2 separate regions of the Homo sapiens genome follow, and region 2 is linked to region 1. Evidence: promoter capture Hi-C in 16 types of primary human blood cells and fetal thymus (Javierre and others, 2016). All regions are on one chromosome and are shown on one strand. The core of a region is centred on a gene start or on the middle of the fragment in contact, and the rest is flanking DNA. Distances in the headings are between cores, read along the strand shown. Region 1 holds the start of SLC19A2 (solute carrier family 19 member 2). Region 2 has its middle 24 kb from the start of XCL1.

Evidence for each region. Contacts are between HindIII fragments. The CHiCAGO score rates a contact against its expected background, and 5 or more counts as called.
Region 2: a contact is called between a fragment that was not itself captured here and the fragment with the promoter of SLC19A2 in region 1, in 4 of 17 cell types (fetal thymus, megakaryocytes, M2 macrophages and 1 more). The highest score is 8.9, in fetal thymus.

Annotation. Positions count from the first base shown.
Region 1 is chr1:169,481,448-169,488,740 of GRCh38, reverse strand. It overlaps SLC19A2 (solute carrier family 19 member 2), which reads left to right and starts at 2,797. Exons shown (of 6, transcript NM_006996.3): 1 at 2,797-3,178. The coding sequence starts at 2,975. RefSeq lists enhancers at 2,363-2,432, 1,740-2,660, 2,443-2,692, 2,496-2,790, 3,333-3,392 and a silencer at 2,973-3,152. The HindIII fragment of the contact is 10,248 bases long and covers 1-5,098 here.
Region 2 is chr1:168,597,121-168,604,413 of GRCh38, reverse strand. No RefSeq gene overlaps it. Among named protein-coding and RNA genes, the nearest start is that of XCL1, 24 kb to the right of the region's middle. The HindIII fragment of the contact is 3,058 bases long and covers 2,513-5,570 here.

The sequences.
Region 1 (7,293 bases), core at 1,548-4,047:
TGTGTTAGATTCCTATTGCTGCACAACAAATGAACAAAAATTTAGCGGCTTTAAAATATTACCACATCAGCTTAGCTCACAGTTCTGTAGATCCAGGTGGGCTTGAGTGGATTCTCTGCTTACGGTTTCGCAGACCAAAATTAAGATGGTGACCCGGCTGGGCTCTTCTCGGAAGAATCCCACTTCCAAGCTCATTTAGGTTTTTAGCAGAATTCAGTTCCTTATGATTCTGGGACTGATATCCTGATTCTCTGCTGGCTGTCAGCCAGGAGCCAGTTTCAGTTGCTATAGGATGCCCACATTTCTTGGTATGTAGCCCCCTCCAACAGCAGCACGTCAAATTCTTCTCATCCTTCAAATCTCTCTGACTTCCTCTTCTGCTCTTAGCAGACGGAAAATCTCTGCTTTTAAAGGGCTGTTGTGATTAGATTGGGCCCACCTGGAAAATCTCACATCTGTCATAAAACGTAACATAATAACAGGAGTATTGCCTCATCAAATTCATAGGTTTCACCTCACACTCAAATGGGTGGGGGTTATACAAGGGCAAGCGTCACTGGGGATCATTCTTAGAATTCTGCCTATCGCAATGACCTCTTAGACAAAAATAATAAGAAAACATCTACCCAATTCAAGGACAATTACTGTTTATACCCAACCTCATTGCCTATGTGATTTATACCAAGGAAAAGTTACAGAAGCAGTGATTTACAGATTAACGTGGTTCAGGTACCCAAGCCTCAGGGAAGGGATGGAAAGCTGTTTTTGTTATTGTTGTTTTGTTTTTTGAGACGAGTACTCGCGAGTCTCGCTCTCCGCTCACTGCAACCTCCGCCTCCTGGGTTCAAGTGGCTCTCCTGCCTCTGCCTCCCAAGTAGCTGGGACTACAGGCGTGCATGCCACTATGCCCGGCTAATTTTTGCATTTTTAGTAGAGACGTGTTTTCGCCATGTTGGCCTGGCTGGTCTGAGACTCCTGACCTCAAGTGATCCGCCCGTCTCGGCCTCCCAAAGTGCTGGGATTACAGGAGTGAGCCACCGTGACCAGCCAGAAAGCTATTTTTAATAAGTAGGCTTCTCTTTCCGAGGCCTCTCTGGCTTGCTTTCTCTTTCTTTCTTCTCTTCTACTAAAGCACTGAATGTAAATACAAAGCGATTGTCAAGAAGACCACCTGTTTTCTCTCTGTAGTCCTGATAAGAAGGGTTGGAGTTTAGGGGACTAGACAATTGAATAATATCGATTAGCAGTCCTCAAACATTTTGGTCTTAGGACCCTTGTTAGAGGTGCCCCAAAAATCTGTTGGGTTTTGTGGGTTATACTTATTGAAAATTGCCATATGGTAATAAATTAAACCTGGAAAGTCTTACAAACACAAGAATATACAAGCACGTATTCTCTCATCCTATAAAGCGATGATGTCATCAGACATTATATAGCCTCTGGAGTGGAAAAGGAAATAAAGACTTAGCATGGTTATGAAAATAGATTTGAGCTCGTGGAACCTCTGAAAGGGTCCCAAGGACCCCCAGGGCTTCCTCGACCACACTTTGAGACTCATTGAGATATGTAAATACTGCCAGTTGTATTTCTTCACAGATTAATCAACTCACAGATTTGGGTGCATTCATTTGTGCAGTCTTAGAAACAAATCTTTCCCTTTACCAGTATCTTATTCCATCTGGTAGACTCATTTCTGCTGCTGATGCTTGAAAAAAGTGTCATTTGCTACCACAGGAGGAAAACGGTGCTAGATGGATCATAACATACAGAAAAGCAAGATAGTTCCAAAATGTTTCCAAGAGCTTCTGGCAGGATCTGTCATTCTACAAATACTGCACAGGAAAAATTGCTTTAAATGCTGCATCTTTGCAGTAGAAAGATTAGGATTGAGCCAGGCTGTGAGTCAGGCAGAAAAAGGCACACAGAGGGGGATGAAAGAAAGCACTGGAGAGTCTTGTCATGCTTTGCCCTTGAAAACTATGCCAAGACCTCTTTTGTGTTTTTAAATGAAGAAATCCATCATGTTTTGTGATTGCTGTAATGACTCAGGATCTTCCACCTTCCTTTTAACTATAAACCGTAGCGTAGTTAGGTGTTTGTTTTCTTTGTATCATGCTTGCAAAAAGTGACGAAATAAAGTTAAAACCCTTTAACTGGGACTCCATTACGGTTCTGCTGTTCAGTGACCAGCTTGTTCATTATTCTCACAATATTATCTACTTTCTTCATTTCAGTCTGTCTCTTAGATCCTGGGCTTCTGATGTCTTTCCATGGCGGATGAATACAATTTAAAACACGAAAGCTGCTGGAGGAAAGGTTTAACGTTCCCCCTCCCCAAGGTGAAATCTTTGCCTGGCCTCAGTCACTAAGTCTCTCAGGAGCGGAAACTGAATGGACATTCCGGAGACGGTGAATAAGAATGATAAACGGTGGTTGGGGAGAACAGCGCGTTTCTTCCAGCGGAGGACTAGGCCCACAGGACGCATTCCCAACAGATGAGCGGAGCCGACAGCAAGTGTGCCACGAACGCCAGCTGGCCGCCTCACTAGAGAGAGCTCCGCCGCAAGCCGCCGCTTTTGGAGTGGAGTTCCACATGTCCTCCGCGCTTGAGCCCTGGGACGTCAGAGGCCTGGCGTGCTGCCACCGCCCCAGTTCACGTCGTGTGACCCACGACCAATGGAAGAGCAGGCAAGTATTCCCGGCGTCCGCTGTGATTGGTTCCCGGAGTGGAGGCGGTGGCAGAGGGTGGGCCTTAGGACGGGTCTCCCTTAAACTGGGCGATCAGGCAGCGACCCTAGAGGCGTCTGTAGGGTAAAGCTGGGGGTTCTGTAGCCGGAGGCGGCGGCGAGTCCAGAACGTCCTGGCCTTACAGGGAGAAGGCGTCACTCGCGGTTACAAGTGCCTGACCCTCACTCCAGTTGGCGGAGGAGGAGAAGGAAGGGGCCGGGCCGGGTCCCCTCCCCTCGCGCCCCGGATGGATGTGCCCGGCCCGGTGTCTCGGCGGGCGGCGGCGGCGGCGGCCACTGTGCTCCTGCGGACCGCTCGGGTCCGTCGCGAATGCTGGTTCTTGCCGACCGCGCTGCTCTGCGCCTACGGCTTCTTCGCCAGCCTCAGGCCGTCCGAGCCCTTCCTGACCCCGTACCTGCTGGGGCCGGACAAGAACCTGACCGAGAGGGAGGTACGCGCGGCGGACGCGGGGCGCGGGAAGGGCGGGCGACCGGCCTGCGGGTGGGCAGCGGAGGAAGAGAGGACCGAGAAAAGCGCTCGAGCCATTCTCGGCAGAGATTTCTGATTTTGCCAGTTGGAGGTCGGCTTCGTGCTCTTCTTTGTGTTCATGATTTTCTGTTTTCTTCGGCTCTGTAGGACGAGTCTCCTGCGAAGGGCTCAGAACACGCGTCCAGAGGCCCCGTGCCTTGTGCGTCAGGCAGTATGCTGATCGTGTTGTAATGTGGCTTAGCGTGACTGCCCAGACTGGTCCAGCAGTTCCTGCTGGGGGCGAGGGGGCAATATTTTGACAAAGAAGTGAAAACAGCAAAGTGTACTTTGGACACGGCTTAGTAAATATTCATTGACTGAAAGTAGGCAACCACTGCTTTTCTGAAAGGATCTTCCCTCTACCTCCTTCACCTGCTTCCTGTCCATACCTTACTTTGTTTGCATTTGGCAGAATGGGTGGGCTTAATCAAGTAAGGACAGGACAGAAGTACAGAACATCTTAATTTGTCTTGATTTTTAATTGGGTGAGGTTGTGTCCAAGGATATCCTGCCCCTCTCTACCTTAAGACCAACCTCCAGGGATAAAGGCAGATGGTGAAACATAATTGACTTTTAATTATAGTGTTTCTTGTATTGCGAATTGTTGCTTCACAGATGTTAGTTTTGCTTCTCAGATACAAGGTGATGTCTTTGAAGGCCTTCTGTGATGTTCAGGGTAATTGAGAGCACGTAGTCCATCATCAAGAGTTTCTTGCTGATTGATTTTTTCCCTAGATGAGGGCTTACAAATAAAGTACTTCAGAAGCGCATAGTGTACTTTAGAAATGTGCTGACCTATTTAAGTGCATGGTCAAAACCAGCACTTGATTTTTGCAGAAGAAAGACAATATATAAACTGAGAAAGAAATTAAACCCAAAGTACTTCCACAAAACCGAAATAAAGCCGATTCAACACCCTCTTCCTTGAATACAACAAAGGGTGAAAGCTGAGGTCTCATGTTCTTTTTCCTACTATCAGTCAAGGGGCCACTTGAGAGCTTTTTCTTTTTTCCTACACCTGTTCCTTCCACCCTGCCTCCTTGCCCCAGGTGCTGTAAAATACTCCTCCCATTTAAACCTTACTCTTCTCTATGTGGGTAGTAGTCAGTCACTTCTTTTGAGTAGCCACTCAGTAACCCTGCATAACAGGTCAGAACAAGAGATGGCACTACCGGAATCATTTGCACACTGGCGAGATATAGTTACTCATAGTTTGTTGTTTGCAGTTTGTTTGTTGCAATGCTCCGTCATTTTCAAGGGCACTTGAGAGAGAATTAAGAATCAGTATTGACTTACGTATTGAGGGTTTCACTTGAGAGTCTGACATTTGTTCACTTCTAGCAAGTATCACTGACTTTTTGCCTGGCCTTAAATTACCCTATTGACCTGCCAGTTGTGGGATGGAGTGGCTGGGCCGTTTCTCAGTCTTGTGGATCATTACATAAGCGACCGTAACAGTTATTCATAACCTATTTGAGTTTTAATACTGATTTAAAGCAATAATGTCAAAACAGCCAAATTTCATGACAGAATGATTTTACAAGAAAATTACTGCACTGATATGAGAAAGTATGATTCTGGAGACCCAAAACAACCACTGAATCTGAGGTGTAGCCACTGAGGCAGAATTGATACTGCTGTGAACAGCTGACCATTAAAGTTTCATGTGAACTGCCATGTGATCTGCACAGTTTGTGCGCCTTTCCGGATAGTGAAACACAGGGAGAGAAACATGTTCCCAGTGTTGATATTTGAAAGCTGATCTGTTTTGTCATGTGCTCTGGGTAGAAGGTTGCTGTGTGACGTGCTACCAAGATCATGTGCTCTGTCCTATCAGAAAGCTTTTCAAGGTGAGTGAAGTGTGTTCAGGGGGCACAGAAATAAAGCAGAGTTGCCAGGCGTAGTAACTATTTGCTGATTGTGTAACAAAAAACATAAGTGTACTTCTCTTATTGCAAATTAGTTGAGGAAAAGCGTGGGATTTGAAGAGAAATCTAGTAGTCTGGGGAAGGGGTGTCTTCTCAGAGGACCACCAAATCATGGCTGATTCTCCTCTGCTTACCTTGTGGCAAACCCTACGTTTTTTTGTATAACTAATAATTGAAATAAATAGAACAACTTATTCATTACTTACTGAATGCTTGTTTTTTGCCATGGACAGTTAAATAAAAAAAATTACATGATTTTTAAGCAAAGCTAATGCTAAGTCATATTCAGCGACATTTGTATTAAAGTTTGTATTTGCTCTTAGAAGACTGCAGAAGGGCCAAGTTGGTTTGAATAGAGCTATTGTTAACTAAATCCTAAAACAAAAGGAGAGGAGAAAAAGATTTCTTCTGTCTACTCTCAAAAGTTTTTTTCTTAGATTTCAGGAAAAGCATTAATTTTAAAACAGATACCAGTGTGTAAGTTTTAAGCAGGCTAAAATTTGACTGTATGTTAATAGTTGAAGGCCAGACTTTCAGTAAAACAGATCTTTATCTCTAAAAACTTTTTTATCCTTTCATCATTGTAGCATGTGTTTTGACAGACATTTACTACCTTTCTTAGATTTTTTTAAACATTCCACCTATTTTGCCTGATATTCAGAGCCTCACGAAGTTTGGTTTTTACCTCCTTGACAGCCTTATATCCTACTACAAACCTTCTTCCCCTTACCACTTCCACATAACCAAGCTCCATTCATATTAATCTAATAGTCTTAAGTCCAGCATATCCACAGTCTCATCTGTTGACATGTACTCAAAGACTTATTCTCTTCTTGGAATAATCTTCCCATATATATCTGTTGATATCTTTGTTAGCCTTTAGGTTTCTCATCCTTCAAGGTCCATTTTGAAGAAACAACCCTGTATTTCCTATTTCCATTATAAATACTGCATATATTATATATTCCTCACTAGGTTCAATACTCCTGGAGAGCTGAGGATCTCAGTTTATTTATTTAGAGACAGTCTTGCTCTGTTGCCCAGGCTGGAGTGCAGTGGTGCGATCTCGGCTCACTGCAACGTCTACCTCCCAGGTTTAAGCGATTCTCATGCCTCAGTTTCCTGAGTAGCCAGGATTATAGGCTTGTGCCACTACTCTCAGCTAATTTTTTATATTTTTAGTAGAGTCGGGGTTTTGCCATGTTGGCCAGGCTGGTTTTGAACCCCTGGCCTCAAGTGATCTGTCCAACTTGGCCTCCCAAAGTGCTAGGATTACAGGCATGAGCTACAGTGCCTAGCCTTATTTTATTCTTTTTTTTTTAAATTTTTTAATTTTAATTTTAATTTTTATTTTTTGAGATGGAGTTTCGCTCTTGTTGCCCAGGCTGGAGTGCAATGGCGTGATCTCGGCTCACTGCAATCTCTGCCTCCCAGATTCAAGTGATTCTCCTGGCTCAGCCTCCCAAGTAGCTGGGACTACAGGCACACGCCACCATGCCCGGCTAATTTTTTTGTATTTTTAGTAGAGATGGGGTTTTGCCATGTTGGCCAGGCTGGTCTCGAACGCCTGACCTCAGGTAATCTACCCACCTCGGCTTCCCAAAGTGCTGGGATTACAGGCATGAGCCACTGCGCCTGGCCATTTTATTCTTTTTGTCACCTCCGTGCTGGTTGAAAACAATGTTGTGCAAATAACTGCCTATTAGTTGTTTAATTGAAACTTGATTCTAATTTAAAGCCTAAATCTAAATTAGAACTTAAAAATGAACATCTGTTTTCCCTTGACTTTGTAGCTCAAGAAAACACAAGCACTGATCCAAAGAGTTGTGAAAGGCACCTTGGTCATAATAAAATCAATTCCCGTTGCTCACATAGCAGATGTTACGTGAAGTGAGAAGTTGGAGTATGGACAATTAATAAGGGTCTGTAATTGGTACATTTTTGCCTGTAGGATGTTTCCCTTCAAGATTCAAAATATCAAGGAAGCATTTTTTGCTGTCATTGGAAACACTGAAAAAGAAAAGGATCTGCCTTGGAGACCCATTAGTTAAGTGCTGGAGACTGTAGTCTTTATCTCTTCATGAATGCCCTGTAAAAGCACCTCAGTGCA
Region 2 (7,293 bases), core at 2,792-5,291, 890 kb after region 1:
CATATAAATATATATATGCATGCACATACACATAAATATAATGTCTCCATAGATTGATAAAATACCATTCAGTGGAGAGTGCAGTGACCAGGGTACAAATACAGGCACTGTCACTGGATGGTGGAAGCATAAATTGGTGTGATCTTTCGGGAAGAAATTTGCCAATATGTATCACAGCCTTCTCTAAGGAGAGAATGTGAACAAAGAGTGATGGCCAAAATTTTCATTGTAGCAGTAGATTATACAGAAAGTTTCTCAACCTAAGGGTTCAAACAATAAATGCATGTGTTGTGAAGTGTCAGAGCTGGCAGTTAACTGGAGTTTCTTTCCCATGAGTTGATTTTCATCAAGGAAAGAATTTCTCAGAGGTTGGGCATCAAGCGATAGAGAGGAGTAGATGGCAGACAATGAGACATCTGCCTCCGACCAGGCCCATAGGTCAGTCTAGCCACAAGGGACAGAGAATCACCCTCAGACACTAAAGAAGCTGTTTCCATAAATGAGACACAGAGGCCTGAAAACTCTGTTTAGTACTCAGGGGAGAAGTTAGAAGACTTAGTGCAGAGCATTCTTCACTTGGTGAAGAATCTTGGTTGGGTTCAGCACAGACGGATGATGTGCCTTGGCAACCTGAGGGTCTGCAGCTTTGGGAAGATAAGGAGACCTAGCCTAGGGAGGCAAGCCAGCATCACCATGCCAGGTGCCAGCATCTGTAGTAGTGGGGAGGTGCTGCCCTCAAGCGGCTGTTTGGACAGTAAGCATCAGCAGGGGGCCAGGAGTGGAAGAGCAGAACATTTGTGAGCTCACCTGGGATATATCTTAACCACACACTCCAATTTCAGCTCTGCCTGGGTCATATGCCCACCTGCATATTCAGTTCTCCCTGGGAGAACTGAAATTGGGTGTGTGGCTAAAATATATATGCAGGTGGGCATATGAGCCAGTGAAGTGTGTAGCCACAAGCTAGGAAACAACCTAAATGCATAATGATAGAAAAAATCAGGTAAATTATGCTTTGTCTCATAACCTGTGAGCCTGATATTATCTGTGGATGTTCAGTATCCTTTCTGTCCTTCTAAGCTTTCCCCTTGTAAAACAGGGCCTGAAAGCATGGAAATCACGTTTCTCAAGTGCCTGTTTGAATATCATTGGGGTGGCACTTTGTGAAGTTTGCAAAGCAGAAGAAAAAGATGGGCCATTGCTTCCAGTAAAGATCTAGGCACGCGTCTGGGTATCAGCAAATGGCTGATGTGGGGCTTTGTCAGCAGCTCCCAGATGCTGCAAGCAGCTAAGCTCAGTAGTAGTGATATCACTGCAATATTTGTGTTTCTAGATCTAGAGCCATCCTGATCATTGTTTTCTTCCAATGGGAGGCATATATAAAGGTTGTATAAGCCTTATTCCCTACGTCAGCTTCCTTTATAGTGAAAAAAACTTAGAGTGGCTTCCATTTTCAGAACCAAAACTTAACTGATACAGCAGAGCCTGTTGGTTAAGGACCTGAACTCTGGTATGATTTAGACTTGGTTCAATCCCAAGATCTGTTTTAAGTGAGTGAAACCTTGAACAAATTCCCTCACCAAACTTCCCAGTTTCTTCATCTGCAAAATGGGTTCACGAACATGCCTACCTTGTAGGACTGTCACATGGTTTAAATTATATCATATATATTAGCATCCATAAATATTAGATATCATTATTGAATACTGCATAATAATTGCATTAAAATAGTATAATAGTAGATGGAAAGGGAAGAAAAAACTCTATGTACAGTATAAACTCAACTACATGAAATACACCAATGGAAAGATAGCAAAATGTTCTCTCTCTAGGGTTTACATATGATTCTATTTTCTTCTGTATTTTTTTGTATTTTTAAAATGATCTACAAGAAGTATTATATACTATTTTATAAAAGGAATAACATGTAATGCTATTAAAATAGCCTACAGTGAAGTTACATAAATATACATTCAAACCTCAGCATCACTCACAAATTCAATGCCTCATGCAAAGAAACACACTCAAATAATACTGTTTCGTTGGTATCTAATATTCATCATCTTTCTAAAGTTTTTTCCCTATCAGCCCAAGACCAAGTAAATATTGTGATAACTTCAGATCTGGGAACAGTAAACCCCCAGGTCAGGGAATTTGCAAACAGTGAATTCTGGAGGAAGCAAATATGTTTGTGGAATTATTCTGGGGAGACTGCTTCATTCTTACCACAAATGGGAAATGACTACTTCTACGGCAGCTGTGATATTCCATTCAGGAGAGGTTTGTTTCAGAGGTGTCATTGTTTGTTTTAGTTGGCCCTTATATTATTTTCATTAACTCTGACAGTCAGTTCTGCAAGACTTGGAAAGCCATACTTTCAGGTTTATGCCTTCTTTCGTCACAGCATAATTATTAATAGTGCCCCTTTTTGCTTTTGAAAATGTCTGGGTTTAGATAATTATACACATGTATGTGTACCCAATTCAAGACCTGCCCAAATAAGAGCAAAGCTTAGGATTTTTAATAAAGGTCTGTATACAGCATAAAATTGCTCCTTAGCATAAAACTGCACCTTAGCATAAAATTGCTCCTTAGTTAACTACCCCTAAACAGCATCTGTTTTGTTTTTGGATGAGCTTCCTGGCTTGAGAAGTTGCAGCCCACTTCCAGCCCACCTGAAAGCACCATACCTTATATATATATATATTTTTTTCTCCAACAAAAATACCTCTTGGGGCACTGTCCTCAAAAATGAATATTTTATTTAAGAAAATAATAGTTTCTTGAATACCTGTATTCATATTTATATCTATGTAGCATGCCCACCTGCTAAGAAATTCCAAGCACTGTAACCCCACAATCATGTCTATCTCTTCTCTGTATCACCAGAGACTCATACAGCAGCAATATGTAGAAAGTCAACAAACTTGGACTGAATTGAACCAAACTTGCTGTGAGTTACCAATAAAGTGATGATAGAGGAATCGTCTTTGGGCTTATCCATTAATCATATTCATAGATACCATTTCCTGATTTATCTTGAGAATAAATGTTCTGGTGGGAATTTTTATTTTTTAATTTCCTCCTTGTGATTTCATTGCACTTGTAATTGGGTCAGCATACAGCACAGCTATCATCCATCAAATGAGTCATTGGGCTGAAATAAACGAAAGATGGTTAAAACAGAGACGTTGCCTTTGAGCTTATTAACGTAGTGCAGAAGATAAAATATATGTGTGGCATGTTTTTTTACTTGTTGATGCATGATCTGTATAACCTATAACATGAACCTTCATTCTTCTCCCATTACCTGTGGTTCCTTTCTTTGCCTCTCTACATGAGCATGTGGACTTTTCAGCTTCAAGATGGAGTACTAATTTATAGGAGGAAGGCATATGGATACTCATTAGACTGTAAAGGTGATGAAGCCCATCCCTAAAATGCCCTGCAAGCATTCATGGAAAGCTCAACAACAAGACAGTTCCTTCATAACAAGTGCTAGATGAGTGCTACAGGATCTTTTTATTTTTATTTTTATTTATTTATTATTTATTTATTTATTATTTATTTATTTATTTATCGAGACAGAGTTTTGCTCTTTTGTCCAGGCTGGAGTGAAGTGGCACGATCTTGGCTCACTGCAACCTCTGCCTCCCGGGTTCAAGCAATTCTCTTGCCTCAGCCTCCCAAGTAGCTGGGATTACAGGCGCCCGCCACCAGGCCTGGCTAATTTTTGTATTTTTAGTAGAGAAGCATTTCACCATGTTGGCCAGGCTGGTCTTGAACTCCTGACCTCAGGCTATCCACCCACCTCGGCCTCCCAAAGTGCTAGGATTACAGGCATAAGCCCGGCCCAGTGCTACAGGATCTTAAAGGGAAAAGAGAAAAATGGGCTCCTGAGTTAAAAGGAGAGGACTCGTGGAGTATGTGAGGCATGAACTAGGTCTTGGATAATGAGATGAGCAAGAGGATTGCTCTTCTGGCCAGGACCACATACTATGCAGATGGATAGCAATTTCTGCTAGAGCTTTAAGCCCCTACCAGAAATTCTGGAACTCCTAATGGGGCACAAAAGCAGCAGGATAACTCCATAGCTTGGAAATAGAGGAAAGAGTCATGTGGACATGACTTAGGGATGTCCCAGTGATGACCCGTGTGGAACAGTGGGTACCTGTGTGCACCAAGGTCGGGATGAGCTCTTGTCAGGAAGTGTCAGCTTTACTCACATCTCCTGAGACTTAGACTCAAGTCTAGGGCTAGAATGGCAGGAGGAAGAGGAGACTCCAAATTGAGTGAGACTACATTGTTCAATCTTAGTGAAATGGGCTTGAAAATAACATTAAGTAGAGATTTGGAAAACAAAGAAACTTGTTTCTTTTTTTTTATGTTTATTTATTTATTTATTTATTTATTGCACACTTTTGCTTGTTGACTGAAATATATATTTGCTATATATGACTCTCTGACGATCTCAAAAATAGGCAAATTCACCAGCTGTGTGTGCTGACTTGTGAAAGGAATAAGAGAGGCCCTTAGCTCCATGGTCCATTATCAGTACTGCTATGCATGTGACTTAGCTGCATAGTTTACCTTGCAAGAGAGGGCAGGGCAGTAGGCTTCAAGTCACAGAGCAAGATCAGCCTGAATACTTTCCTTTTGTAAACGTGCACTGGATACAACTTTACCCAATCCAATTTGAGCTGCAAAATTGGACAGTAAATTTCAGAAGAGCAGCAGCTTCACCTGTCAGATTGTTAACTTACCATTTGCCTCAGCTCCTCCTGAACCAGATGAACAATTTTTCCTGTCATGCTTTTTACATTTCTGTTCCCAATCTAAGCATGAAAGAGGGGGTGTTAGAGCGGGTAAAATGAAAAACGATAGTGGGACAGCAGGCATTCTAGAAATCAGCATGTATGAGCCCTTTATTCATATAACCCATTGTCATTGGGTATATAATCATACATAGTCAAAAATAAGTGCGTATTTTTTGTTTTTGAAGAAAGTTTGCCTTAATGCATTCTTTATTACAACAAATTTATGTGCCTGTCTTTCTTGTCAATCTCAAGTTTGTTAGCTAATTTCCTACATGAAGGGACCCTGCCATGTGGAAGGTAAAGGCCTGCCAGGAGAATGAAATAGCAGCAGAACTGACCTGCTCTCAAAAACAAATTGCAAACATCAGCCTGGAAAACAGGCAGACTGTGTCATCATAAATCCCCTTTTCTCAATTCTCTTGAAATAAGGGTTGGCCAACCCTGTTCAAAGCACCAATGAATCATTTTGCAGGCATCTCCTGGGTGGAGATAAAAATCTCTCTAAAATCAGAATTATTGAGTAGCATTTATGATTTGTCCCTTTCCCAGCATCTCAGGGTCACAATGGAACCTACCAATCATAGCAACTGGCCACTTACTCAAGGGAAGTGAAGGCAAAGGGTTTCCGTTACATTGAGGCAGGACAGAAATTGAAAATGTCACCTCACATTTTTTTATTTCATTGTTTTTTCTTTTTCTTGTAGTGGTAGATGAAGTTGTAGATGAGGAAAGGGTCAGCCTCTGAAAGAAGCTTCTAGGATTGCTTCAAAGAAAAATCAGTAATGGAGACGTTTTATATTAGCTGTAATACAATTTTATTTTGTCTTTTTACTTCTTCAATCAAATTAATAATAGAATCTTAAATCTCTGGTTTTATGACACAATATTTTTAGAGGAAAGTATGAAATTACATATGATCCCAATTCAATTTTTAAGAAATCACAGAGGCATGAGGGGAAAGCAAAATAGAAATAGTAACAACTCCATGAAATCTGTGGATTATAAGATCATTGATTTTCTTTTTTTACTATTGTGCATTCTCTAGGTTTACTATTATCATAATTTTACCTTTTACGTTTTGAGGGGGATAAATTTGTAAGTACTGGTGAGAAAAAAATGCTTGAAAACCGTATGCTCTTTAATAACTATGGCCTACTGGGATACCTGGGACCGACTGGAAGTATGATCAATGAAAACTAAGACTGAAAGGAATCTGTGGTTTACATCAGACTGAGTAACTTGGGTCTAACCCAGTTGAGTCAAAAGTGATAGGAAATGGAATGTGCCTAGGTCTAGGTTCTACCCATTCTTTGTGAAGGTCCCTATGCTCATAATATGAATTTTTGCCTCAGCTTGTGCCTAGATGAGATTCTATTGTCTGATCTGATGGAACAGAAGCATAATGAGATGTTGGCAGGTGTTCCTTTATGATGGAGGTGGCAACACCCCTCCCACTAAGCATCTACTTCTATCCCCTGATCCACAACAGTGCCAGTGAGGCTGAGGGTGGGGTGGAGTCAGAAAAATTGAGAGAAAGAAGAAAAAACTTACACAGGATCCACACTTGGCACCGAGATATATGCAGAAATTGCTAAAGGACCCCCTTTGCTTTAGGGACTTGGTGGAAGAGGCTGTCACTGAAGTCAGGTTGGAGTGAGAGATTGTAGGGCCATGGGACAGAATCTGACATTTTTAAAAAGAACTCCGTTATGATGAATAGACTCAGCAACAGGGTCTCAAAGTGGTAGGGGAGTCACAGTTTCTACATTCTTTATGACAAAGCTGTTTGGAAATTGCCTTAACTCAGCTGCCCTGATATAGACGCATGAGGCTAGGAGAAAAGGGACTATGGAATTTACTGAAAAATGATCCTCTCTTTAACATGTCAGGACCCAAGCAATTCTCTTGTGGGACCCTCCCAATTCCTAACAACTAGAAGATGTGCACATTCTCTTTCTTATATCCAAAGAGCATCAGGAGTCCACGTCAGTTGCCAAGGGTCTACACCATGTGATGGATTCAAGCAGGAGAAAACCAGCACTCAGTTTGACACATACCTCGCAGAATATGGAGGAATAGAGATTCCACTAGCAATGAGGCCAGCTGGCTCCCACAGCAACAGAAGCCACAGAGAGATGCAAGCAGGACTTTCAAGGGTAGGTGTAAAAGGTCACTGGAGAAGTTACAGAAATTCCTGGGGAAAGGGGCTTAGCAAGAGGTTCAGGTGTGGCATTAATGCCTGGCAGTCCCAGCATTAACACTGCTAGGACAATATTATAACTAAAAGCCGATGATATCTGGGACACTAGGGAATATAACATCAGAAAATGGAGAATTCAAATTGTCTCTGTTTGCAGATGACATGATTGTATATTTAGAAAACCCCATCATCTCAGCCCAAAATCTCCTTAAGCTGATAAGCAATTTCAGCAGTCTCAGGATACAAAATCAACGTGCAAAAATCACAAGCATTCCT